3 separate regions of the Homo sapiens genome follow, and regions 1 and 2 are each linked to region 3. Evidence: promoter capture Hi-C in 16 types of primary human blood cells and fetal thymus (Javierre and others, 2016). All regions are on one chromosome and are shown on one strand. Each heading gives the region's core, a stretch centred on a gene start or on the middle of the fragment in contact. The rest is flanking DNA. Distances are from core to core; before and after follow the strand shown.

Region 1 (3,973 bases), core at 525-3,024, 730 kb after region 3:
CTCTGTCCACTCAAAAGTTTGCAGTTAGTAATGAGAGCTCTGTTGGATTTTTTTTTTTAGTGTACTTATAGGTTATTGAAATTCATGGTATTTTTTTAATCTCTTAGTCTTGTGTGGTTTTATTTGCACTATTTGGTGATTTGATGTTTCCGGGGATAGTGTGTATGGAGACTTGGAATCAAGTGAATGGCATTATCCTAAAGGCTTAGAAACTCCTAGATATCTTTTTGCTATTGATTGCTCATTTGATCTTTTTAGTCATAAAACATACACTGTATGATTACAATATTTCCAAATTCCTGAAACTTCTTGTGGCCCAGCATATAATTTCTGTAGGTGAATACTCCATGTACTACTGAACAGAATATGCATTGTGCCATTGTTGGGTGTAGTGTACTACTGACATTTGTTAACTAGGTTCAATTGTTCAACTGATATCTTTAATATAATTATTGATTTTTTGGACAGTTTTTCTATCAATTCTAGAAAGATAAGAGGTAGCATCTCCAAATGTAATTGTGGATTTGTCTATTTCTTCCTTTATTTCTTTAGTTTTTGCTTTGTGCATTTTGAAGTTTTATTAGATCCATGATATTATTAGGTTTATTTACATTTAGGATTGTTAGTGTTTCTTGATTAATTGACTCCTGATTATTATGAAATGTTCTTTTCAATTCATGGCAATACTTGACTTTTTTTTTTTTTTTTTTTTTTTTTGAGATGGAGTCTTGCTCTGTCACCCAGGCAGGAGTGCAGTGGTACAATCTCGGCTCACTGAAACCTCTGTCTCCGGGTTCAAGCAATTCTCTGGCCTCAGCCTCCCGAGGAGCTGGGACTACAGGCACACACCACTATTCTTGGCTAATTTTTGTATTTTTAGTAAAGACAGGGTTTCACCATGTTGGCCAGGATAGTCTTGAACTCCTGACCTCAAGTGATCCACCTGCCTCAGCTTCCCAAAGTGCTGGGATTACAGGCATGAGCCACCGCGCCTGGCCAGAAATACTTATCTTGAAGTATACTCTGATATTAATATAGGTACTCCAGCTTTCTTATGATTAATAGGTATGTGGTATGATTTCATCCTTTTCTCTTTTAATCATTTTGTACTTTGTACTTTAACCTTTTGTATATTTTGTACTTTTAATAATTTTGCATTTAAAATTTAGTCCTTGGATACAAAATCAGTAGAAAATACATTTTTATTAGTACTCCAGAGAATAAGAATTAACCAGAATTTCTTTTGTTTTGAATTGGTTTTAAGTATGGAATAATTGTCTTTAAAGTTATAAAAAGTGATTAGTGATGTTTATAAAATGTTAGCATTTTTTGCCTTGACAAATAGGTAAGTCCAAAAGCTTTCGGAGAGGCAGGCAGCAGCAAGAACTATTTGAAAAAAAAAATTATTTTTCTGAATTCAATATAGAAATACAAAAAAACCTTAAAACAACAGTTAAATCAAAGATCCATGACAAATGAAATTTAGTGATTAAATATACATATTTTCTGATTTTAACGCTAGTTGAGAGAAGAGAAAATAGCAAGTAGAAGCACAGAATGTGATCATTGGAAGGTACCTGGGAAATTCCTGCTTCATCCATTTAGCAAACTTAGGAGCACAACACATTCCAGTACTAGGATCTTGTGTGAGATTGTGTGAGTTTAGCTCTGCCATTTGATATATTACTACCTGTGGGATCTTGGGTAGATTGTATAATTGCTTTGAGATTGAATTTCTTCTATAAACTGGGGATAATGCTGCCTTTCTTCAGTCTAAGGATTATTATGAAGATAAGTAATAAAAGGAGTACAAAGGACCAAACAAATACAATTTTTTTTTTTTTTTTTTTTTTTGCAGTTGAGAAAAGAGGCACTTGGGGAGGATACACGCTCTAAGATTCTGCAGTTTATAACCAGCAGGCCCAGAGTTTAGGTTTTCAGAATCCTAGTGGTGTGTTTCTTCTGTTATGCCAAAAAGAAGCACATATCAAAAAGGCAAAAAGTATGAGTTGTGGGGATATTGGCATTATCAGTTTGCTTCTGAGGGAAGATAAGCATCACTACTTTCCAGACATTCCTCTGGAAGTGATATAGAAGATGCTGAGGAGTTCAGCATGGTGATGGAAGGAGGCATTTGTAGTAATGCTGAGAACAGAAAAAAGACCTGAGATGGGAAATTTGTAAGCTTGTTTTCAATTGCAGCTTCATTATGTGAATAAACTATACCTAGTTTATTTTTGGTTTAATACAGTAGTGCTTTTATGAAACCATGAAATAATTCTAATCAGTATAAACTTGTGTTTTAAAACTCCTGTAAATCAGTCAAAACGTCATCATGTAAACATCAGTTCTTGAGTCAGTAGTATTGCTGTTTCTGAGCCAGCTTCCCTATTCAAATTCAAATCTACATTGTGTGGTTAGGCAGCTGTAAATAAGACTGCTGTTATATGATGTCACATGATAAAATAAAGTACTTCCAATATCATTAAAAAAATTAAAAAATGAAGTTCATTCTTAAAAACAATAGAGTTGGATTTTGTTATTTTATCCAGTTTCTTAATGCCTGCCTTTTAATTGGAATGTTCAAGACCACTTATGTGTAATTTAAATATCAATATGGTTAAATAAAATCTATTGTCTGCTTTTTTTAAATTTTTCTCACTTTGATGTTGTTGCTGATGTTACTCTTTTTACTTTCTTCCTTTCTCTTTTGCGTGCATATGTCTATATTCCATTTTATATCCTTTATTGGCTTTATATTTAACTGTTTTTAGTGGTGTCCCTAGGGATTAAAATATTCATCTTTAACTTATTACACTCAATTTTCAAATGAGCTATGTCATTTTAAGTAAAATTTAAGAAAATTTGAATTGTATATTTTATTAGTCCATTGTCACACTGCTATAAAGAAATACCTGAGACTGGGTAATTTTTAAAGAAAAGAGGTTTAATTGGCTCACAGTTCTGCAGGCTGTACAGGAAGCATGGCTGTGGGGGCCTCAGGAAACTTATAATCATGGCAGAAGGGGAAGCAGGCACATCTTACATGGCTGAAGCAGGAGGAAGAGAGCAAAGCGGAGGTGCTACACCCTTTTAAATAACCAGATCTCTTGAGAACTCACTTACTATCACGAGAACAGCAAGGGGGAAATCTGCCCCCATGATCCAATCACCTCCCACCAGGCCCCTCTTCCAACACTGGGGATTAAAATTTGATGTGAGATTTGGGCAAAGACACAAATCCAAGCTATATCATATTTTTTTCAACCTCCCATTTATGTTTTTGTTGTCATTTATTTCTACATATAAGTTACTCTTATTTTTTTCTTTAAACAGTCATATTTTTTAAAAAACAAAATCTTTTGCGTGTATGCACATTTTTTTATTTCTAGAATTCTTCATTCCATCATACATGTCCACATTTTTACCTGCTTTCATTTCTTTTTAGACTAACAAACTTTCTTTAACATTTCTTGTAGTACAGACCTGCTAGTTACAATTTCTCTCAGATATTGTCTATTTGAAAATTTCCCTATTTTGTCATCATGTTTGAATGATATTTTCACTGGATATAGAATTTCACATTTTAAAAAGTTAAGCTGATTAGATAAGTTCTTCCATGGCCTCCTGGCACGCATTGTTGATGTGAAATCAGTGATATTTTTATAATTTTTTAAAATTCTGTGTTTTACTATTTTTCCTTTTGATTTTTAGCATTTTGATTATTCTTGGGCCTTTTTTTTAAAGATTCTTGCATCTGTGGATTAATATTTTTGTGACATCTGAGAACATTTTAGCTATTATATCTTCAAATATTTTTCCACCACAGTATTTCTTTTGTCTACTTCTGGAAATCTAATTATATGTATGTTAGGCTGTTTGATATCTTCCTACTAGTCACTGAGGCTTTGCTTATCATTTTAGCTTTTTATTCAGTGTCGTTAGTGTTAATAGTTTGTATTGCTCTGTATTC
Region 2 (4,137 bases), core at 281-2,780, 750 kb after region 3:
AATACAAATTTAAACTAAGTGAAAAACGTTTGAAAGATCTATAAACAGCATTTGCCTAGAATAATTTGCCATATGTTAACCATAATGCTTGCATAAAACTTTATAAGGTGTCACCTGCTTTCCAAGAAATAGAAAATGCTCTGTAGATGTTATCTCAATTAAGACCACCAGTTAAAGAAGGAAAAAAGATACTTCTTAAAAGAGAAAACTAAATGATAAAACATTTGAAATAATGTCTTAATATTTTAGTATCTCTGAAACTTAGGATAGTGCAATGCACAGAGCAGATATTTAATAAACATGCATTGAAGATAAGAAAAGCAAATCCACATAAGAAATGCCTGGTCATTGAACAAGTTAATACTGATCTAAAAAGTTAATACTGATTATGAAAGTAGATTATCCTACTATAATTTAAGTTCTTTGATTTTTGAAAACAAGAATTTGTTAATCTTTTTTTGCAAAAACATATTAATGCTTTTTAGCTACATCTACTTCTAGGACATGAAAACCCACAGTGATTCCTTGTTGTGCCTGCAACAAGCCCTATGGATGAGCTAAGCTCTCTAGTACACTGTGCTTAGCTGAAAAGGAAGCAGGTGATGAAGAGATTGAGGCATAAGAGGAACATCAATCTCCCCCACCCCCATAGTTAGAAAATCCATTTTTTACACACTGATTTAATTATAGACCAAAGCTTTAATTGTAAGTCTATCTTCAATCAATTTCTTCACCTACTTATTGGTGGCCCGTCATGATGCAGGCTGCAGTACATGGTGGCATGGTAGTTAGGTGGCCTGCCTGAGGATGAGCCTCACTTATTTGTTTTACTATCTGGGTGACTTTGGGCTACTTGTTCAACTATTTTGTCTTATTCTCCTTATCTGTAAAATGAGGACAATGATAATGCCTATATCACCCAGTAGGATTAAGTGAGTTATACTATGCAAAGCATGCCAGTCCTGCTGGGGCGTAGTAAGTGGTATATCTGTGTTTGTCAAATTAAACAATTGCAAACTGAGAATAATTATATTATGCAGCTCTCATGTTTTGAAGGTTGATAAAAGAATTAAAGTATAAATTTCTACATACTTGTCTGATAGCATGATTTTTAGTATATTATTGTTATTATATGTAAAATATAATGCTGGGCTGGCTGTAAGTGATCTAGACAACAGTTCCTGTGCTCAGGGAGACTGTCCTATAGAAAGTGCAGTGTGGTCACTCATGTATTTCTCTTGTCCAAGAGAGACAATGGAAGGGCTTCAGGAAAGTAACAGAACCTGGCCCTTCAGAGATTACCTGGAATCAGATTAAGTAAAGATGTACTATGGGAGGCAGTATTTGGAATGGGTCTTAACAGATAGATTTTGAGGAGAAACCAGGTGGAAAGTATTTCATTTTAGGAGAGTTATACACACAAATATGCATATATTGTGAATTTGATTTTAGAAATAATGAAGAGTTACTAACAGTTGTTTTAGATTTAGGATTATCTTGATTGTATTTAAAATTAGAGAGGGAATTGGGTTATGTATAGGTAGAGATTTATGTAGTTTATACAAGCTGAGTTACCCAGAGCCCAGGATAGGGACTCAAATATTTATTGACTGCCTATAATCATGCCACACTAGTAAATACTGAAATTATAATGATAAATATTATGTATTGTTTTCTTACTAGATAACGAGCAGAGTGTTAGCAAGTTTACGTATATTTTATCATTTTTCCCCATGATAATCTCACAAAGATAGATACCAGTATTGTCTAAATTTTATGACTGAGGAAACCACTGAGCCTTAGAGGGGTTAAGTAACTTGTTCATAGTGACAAAACTAGTAAGTAATGTAACCAGAATTTTCTTACTGGAGGACAAGTTACTATTAATAATTTTAATATGCTGTGTCACAAAAGGCATAAAGCTATAAAGACATTTTAGTTGAGATGATAGCACTGGGCAGAAGGATATGGTGTTGATGCATAGCTTTAAATAATGTCAAAACAGAACAGAAGTTGATATGAAAGATATTTGTTTGGTGGAGAGGATAGATGGGGTAGAGATTGTGGGGGACTAGAGAGGGATTTTCTGGGATGCTGTTGATGTTCTGTTTCTTGATCTGCACATGTCACATGAACATGTTAAATGCTTTTCATTAAGCTGTTCACTTAGGATTAATAACTTTTCTGGATGGATTTTTATACTTCACTTAAAGGGTTTATAAAGAAATACATGTTTGATGTCCAGGTTTGCTAAAGAGGCTCACTAAAATCAGTTAAGAAACATTAAGAAAACTCACAGAAACATACACACACACACAATTTTTGTCTACAACTCCATCTCTGCTTTACCCAGGAGAAGCTTAACTTCGGATCAGGAGATGTGAACAGCAAATCTCTTCAAACTTTTAAAAATGGAAATGATATAACATATCTTCCACAGGGTGAAAGTGTAGATCAAATGAGATTTAATGAGACAACATAGAAATAAGATTCCCGGTGTGCATCCTGCAAATGTCCTTTCGTGAAGATCACAAGAATAGGCTCTTGAATACTAGTAGGTGGAGCATTCATGTTAGAAAATTATTTCAAAATTCCCCTTTAGGATAAAATACATAATTTATGCTTCATCTCCTCCTGTGCCTCTATATTAAATATTCATTGTCTTTGACCCATACGTTGTTATTGCTTTAAAAAATTCAGTAAAATATTATCACCTGGAAGGGCATTGGAGTATAAAATCCAAACAAAACTGGTACCTCTGCACTTGTAGAAAACTATGAAATATAATATAGCACATATGATATACATATTTGTTGATTCATTCCAAGAAAATGAGAAAAGAGCTGAAATGTCTTAAAGTGTAGCTACAAACGTGTATAGGAAGGGAAGAGTTTTTTTTTCCCCTATGGATGTTCTATAAAGATTATTTTGGAAAGATGCAGTCTGAGGAAGGTGTGGTAGATAGAAAATTACAAAGAAAAGTTTAGCTGGGTTGCGAAGCTAACATTCTAAAGCATAACAGGGACTGTCTACCTACAGCCTGCAGGCTAAATCCAGCCTATAACCTGTTTTATTTTTTTTTGGAAGCCTGTGAGCTAAGCAATGTTTTTACATTTTTAAGTGGTTGAAAAAATATACTTTTTTTCATGTAAAAATTATATGAAATTCAGATTTCAGTGTCCATAAGTAAAGTTTTACCATTGGGACATGGTCGCGCTCATTTGTTTATATATTGTCTTTGGCATAGTGCAGTAATTGCAACAGAGAACATATGGCCTGCAATGCCCAAAATATTTACTATCTGGCCCTTTTCAGAAAAAGTTTGTGGGTCCCTAATTTAAGGCTCAGTGTTTAGGTCATAGAAAGGCAGTGTGAGTACACTCATAATGTAGTACACTTATGGAAATCATTTTCCCTCCTCTACCTAGTTTATGAAAATGTTCAGAGCTTAAAAATTGTTCTAGCTACATATTGCATTTGAGCCAGTGTTTGAGCACCTCCATGAAGCTTTCTTGGCTCTGACAAGGGAATGATACTTCTTACTCTAAAACCCGAAGCACTTTATATCTGTTATAGTACTTACCATATTTTGCCTAAGACTAACGTTGTCGCTGATGCTTACTTTATTTTCTCAGCTAGATTATTATCTCCTTGGGGAACAGGAATAGATGTCTTTCATCTAACTTTTTTTTCTCTTGTTATCTAGCATGATGTTTTGTCCAGTATTTGTTGAATACTGGACAAATATTGCCCAGTATTTGTTGAATGAACATTAATGACCAGATTAACTCTGCATTTTTAAAGAAATTTGATTCTTAGGAGGTTATGACACAAAGTTTACCTTGTACATTGTTGTTTTCTGGAATACAGGACTGATAATATTCATTCCAAAGAAGTTCTGTATCCAGTGAGATCTAGAATGAAAACATTATTATTCAGATATCAGCTTTCCTAGAAGCAGCAACTCATTAAAGTGATTCCTTCATTGGTTTACTGGATGTTTCTTTTTAACTTTTTCCTTTTCTTTCTTCATGGATCTCCCCTTGAGGTCTGTGTGTTGCTTCCTCTAATGGTAGTTTGGGAGTCGAGTGTTGGGATTTAACTTTACATTATTGTTGTTTACTTCCTATAATATCA
Region 3 (4,254 bases), core at 1,715-4,214:
TTCTATGATTACTTTAATAACATTTCCTGAGTTTAATTTTTTCATTACCCAGCTATCTTTCAGAACTGGTATATTGATTTTTCTAATTAATATTCTTTGTACTTGGGATGGTATTTTTATTTTGTACTTCTAAAGAATTGAATAGCACAACCATTATAAGTGATGTGCTTGCTATGTTATCATATAAATGCTCAAGGTACACCTTCTAATGTTGAAAAATAGGAAAATAAATTGACCTTGATGAAGTGTGTCTTCTTTTGTCTGTTCCCAGGAAAGTTTATTTCAGGTATTTCTACTGCTGAAATGATTAGCGTTAACAGCTTTTCCCCTCCATTTTATTTTACAGGGTCTCTTCATCTTCCTGATATATGGGGTGTACAACACAGAGGTAAGTCTGCTTGGAGTATCTCAAGGCTGACAGAGTGAATGAGAGAAATGACAGGTTTCTTATCTTGATAACTGAGGAACAAAGTTGGCTTTTCATATGAGTGTCCTACTGCCCTTCATGCTTGGACTAGCTTATATGCATCCCAGCTTACCATTAAACACTGACACCCTGAATAAAGGGACAGCCTCATTTCTCACAGGCGTTGACTAATATTTTACGACTGCCTTAAGTTTTTGAACTTTCAGTCTTTAACACTTAGCTATTGTAGAAAAAAACAAAAACAAAAACAAAAAAACAACTCAGCCTCTCCTATACTCTCACTCAACAATCAACACAGAAGATTTCTGCGACCAAATGTGTAGGGGTTTCTCCCCACACACCGAGCAAGCAATCAATTCTGCAGCAGACACCACTGGGGTGTCCTCCAATTCAATTCTGACACTACCTACCTGGAGACAGCATCAGATCCCCCAGATTAAGAGCCCAGGCCTACAAGACTGGCCGGCCGCATTTCAGATGCCAATCACAAGCCCCAGGTAGTTTTACCTGTGCTTCTGACTGACCAGCTGTAAATCGGGGTTCCCATGACCCCTTCCTTGGGCTTGATTAATTTGCTAGAGCAGCTCATAGAACCCAGGCAAACACTTACGTTTTCCGGTTTACTATTAAGGACATTACAAAGGCTATCGATGAACACCAGATGAAGAGATGGATGGGGGAAAGTCTGTGGGAAGGGGCGCGGAGCTTCCACGCCCTTTCCGGGTGCGCCATCCTCCTGGAACCTTCACGGGTTCGCTTACAGGAAGCTCTCCAAACCCCGTCCTTTTTTAGGTTTTTATGAAGGCTTCATTACACAGGCATGATTGATTAAATCATTGGCCATTGAAGATCAACTTAACCTTCAATCCCTCTCTCCTCCCCGGAGGTCGGGGGGTGGGACTGAAAGTCCCAAACTCTAATCCTGCCTTGGTCTTTCCGGTGACCAGCCCCCATCCTGAAGCTACCTAGGGGTTGCCAGCCATCATCAGTCGCTTCATTAGCATACAAAAAGACATTTATTACTTTGCAGATTCCAAGGATTTTTAGCAGTTGTATGCCACAAAACGGTTCAAAGTCCAAATATATATTTCACAATATCACAACTATACTTGACAGTATTAAAGTGTCAGTTTAAGTGGTGGAATACTTACATGTTGTTTCATGGGATTAGAAAAAAAGCAATTTCTTCTTATCTCAAAATTCTCATTAAATATTGTCTGTAAAATTTTTAGGGCAGGCTGAGAGAGGTCCATAAGTATTAGTAAATAATCCCTATGGTTTCGATTGTGAAATTTCCCAGAGAATTTATTATTTAATTATGAGAAGTTATTTAGCTAGAAACATTGTGATGTACATGTAACTTCATTAAGAAAACATACTATGTAAATAAGCTGTTGTCATAGTTCTAGTTCTTTTATTTAAAATTTCTCATTTATAAATATCCTTTGCTAGGAAAGTGTCTGGTTTAGATTTCTGCATGCTTAACATGAAATCGAGTGCCTTGTGTACATTAGACACTGAATAAATATTTGTTGTTTGATTTTGTTGATATAACTTTGATTTTAAGATTTTACTTCATAATTTTCCCTTACAAGAAAAATTTCTAAATTTGCAATGAGTTTCTCGGTATTCTGTACTGGCGAGGAAAGAGTTGATCCTAGCAGAGCTCTTAGAATGGCCTGGTGGTTAATTTTTCATAAACAATATAAAGGGCCAGGCATTCATAACGTGGCAAACAGACTGATTAGCCAGGCTAAGGTACGGGGGCATTTAAATAAGATGTAATGATAATGAAGTATGTGTGTGGGCGTGTTTTACAGGACTGCTGCACCTGGATTACGCTCGGTTTCCTCTTCCAGTAGCCTTCAGGAAGGTTGGCAGTAAGACAAGTTTTTTTCTTTTTCTTTTTTTTTTTTTTGTTGCAACGGTACCACTAATTGCGGTTTCAAAGCAGGCTCCTCCCATAAATGCAAAGGATATGCGCCCATTATTAGTGCTTCCAAATTCAAAGGGATAACATAAGCACCTGTTTTAATAAATGTTGAGCATTTGGAGTTGAATGCTTCTTGATAGAATCAAAAGTGCCCTCAATGATCCACTTCTAGGTTTGAATTTTATTTCAAGACCTGGATTGCAAAACCTAGAGTGAAGAAAGCCCTAACATTGAATCCTCAGTTTCCCTCACCTTCTCTTCCAGCCCCTTTCTCTGCATCTCCCACGCCACGCTGTAGTACAGTCCCCCGTAACTTCCCGCCCCTTGGGTTCCACCTCCTGAGCGTCTTTCCCCCAGAAACCCTCAACCACTTTCATCTCCTTCAGTGCAGCCCACCAATCACGCCTGTTCGCCTCGAAAGCCCCTTTTTAGCAGGGCTCCAAATCCCCGCCTCCCCTGCCCTTGCTCCCCCGCCTCCGCCCAACGGCCCCAGTGATTGACAGGCAGGCCGGGCGGAAGCTGCGGCGCAGGCGCCCTGGCTCCTTAGCCCTCCCCTCTGGCCGGGTCGAGGAGTTCCCAGCAGACACTGCGCCGCGGCTGCGCAGTACACGGGAGGCTTTTAATTCCATTGTGGAGAGGACGGCGTTATTTTTATTAACTGGAGGCGACGGCGGCTGCGGCGGCGGCGGGACCCGTAAGTATTGCCGGTGGGTCCAGGAGGGAGAGGGCGAGGCCTGGGGAAGAGTCGCAGGACCATGCGTGCCGGTGCCGGAGGCGACTGGGCTGGGAATTAGTGCTGGGCGCGTTGCGGTCTGGGCGGCGGCGCGGCGGGGTCCTTAGCGCTGCGGTGGTCCCGGCCCGGGGCCCGGTTCCACCTCCTTTCCTCCCTCTTCCCTCTTCCTCCTCCTTTCTTCAGCCAGGCCTCCTCCGGGGTATGAAAATCGGCAGTGGGTTCCTGAGTGGCGGCGGAGGTACCGGCAGTAGCGGTGGTAGCGGCTCCGGCGGCGGTGGTAGTGGCGGCGGCGGCGGCGGCGGCAGCAGCGGCAGGAGGGCAGAGATGGAACCCACCTTTCCCCAGGGTATGGTTATGTTCAACCACCGTCTTCCCCCGGTCACCAGCTTCACCCGGCCGGCGGGGTCGGCCGCCCCTCCCCCGCAATGCGTGTTATCCTCCTCTACCTCCGCAGCCCCGGCCGCTGAGCCCCCCCCTCCGCCAGCCCCGGACATGACTTTCAAGAAGGAGCCGGCGGCGTCAGCCGCGGCCTTCCCCTCGCAGAGGACCTCCTGGGGGTTCTTGCAGTCTTTGGTTAGCATCAAACAGGAGAAACCCGCGGATCCTGAGGAGCAGCAGTCCCACCACCACCATCACCACCACCACTATGGGGGGCTGTTCGCTGGAGCTGAAGAGAGGTCTCCAGGCCTAGGAGGCGGTGAAGGGGGGAGTCACGGCGTCATCCAGGACCTCAGTATTCTCCACCAGCATGTCCAGCAGCAACCAGCCCAGCACCACCGTGACGTATTACTCAGCAGCAGTAGCAGGACTGATGACCACCATGGCACTGAGGAGCCAAAGCAGGACACTAATGTCAAAAAGGCAAAAAGGCCAAAGCCAGAATCTCAGGGAATCAAAGCCAAGAGGAAGCCAAGTGCATCTTCCAAACCTTCTTTGGTTGGAGATGGAGAAGGTGCCATCCTCTCCCCAAGTCAGAAACCTCATATCTGTGATCACTGTAGTGCTGCTTTCCGAAGCTCCTATCACCTGCGGAGACATGTCCTCATTCATACAGGAGAAAGACCTTTCCAGTGCAGCCAGTGTAGTATGGGTTTCATTCAGAAATACCTACTACAGAGACATGAGAAAATTCATAGTAGAGAGAAGCCATTTGGATGTGAT

What was found. The method cuts DNA at HindIII sites, captures the fragments that hold promoters and counts their contacts. A CHiCAGO score of 5 or more calls a contact.
Region 1: a fragment that was not itself captured here is called in contact with the fragment with the promoter of ZNF281 in region 3 in 1 of 17 cell types (M0 macrophages); the score reaches 5.2 in M0 macrophages.
Region 2: a contact is called between a fragment that was not itself captured here and the fragment with the promoter of ZNF281 in region 3, in 1 of 17 cell types (total B cells). The highest score is 5.1, in total B cells.

What each region holds. Positions count from the first base shown.
Region 1 is chr1:199,677,381-199,681,353 of GRCh38, reverse strand. No RefSeq gene overlaps it. Among named protein-coding and RNA genes, the nearest start is that of NR5A2, 350 kb to the left of the region's middle. The HindIII fragment of the contact is 827 bases long and covers 1,361-2,187 here.
Region 2 is chr1:199,660,935-199,665,071 of GRCh38, reverse strand. No RefSeq gene overlaps it. Among named protein-coding and RNA genes, the nearest start is that of NR5A2, 360 kb to the left of the region's middle. The HindIII fragment of the contact is 1,662 bases long and covers 700-2,361 here.
Region 3 is chr1:200,408,746-200,412,999 of GRCh38, reverse strand. ZNF281 (zinc finger protein 281) reads left to right here and starts at 2,964. Exons shown (of 2, transcript NM_001281293.2): 1 at 2,964-3,054; 2 at 3,277-4,254. The coding sequence starts at 3,295. RefSeq lists enhancers at 1,104-1,710, 2,386-2,435, 1,982-2,559, 2,560-3,137, 3,138-3,715 and a silencer at 2,776-2,955. The HindIII fragment of the contact is 20,575 bases long and covers 1-4,254 here.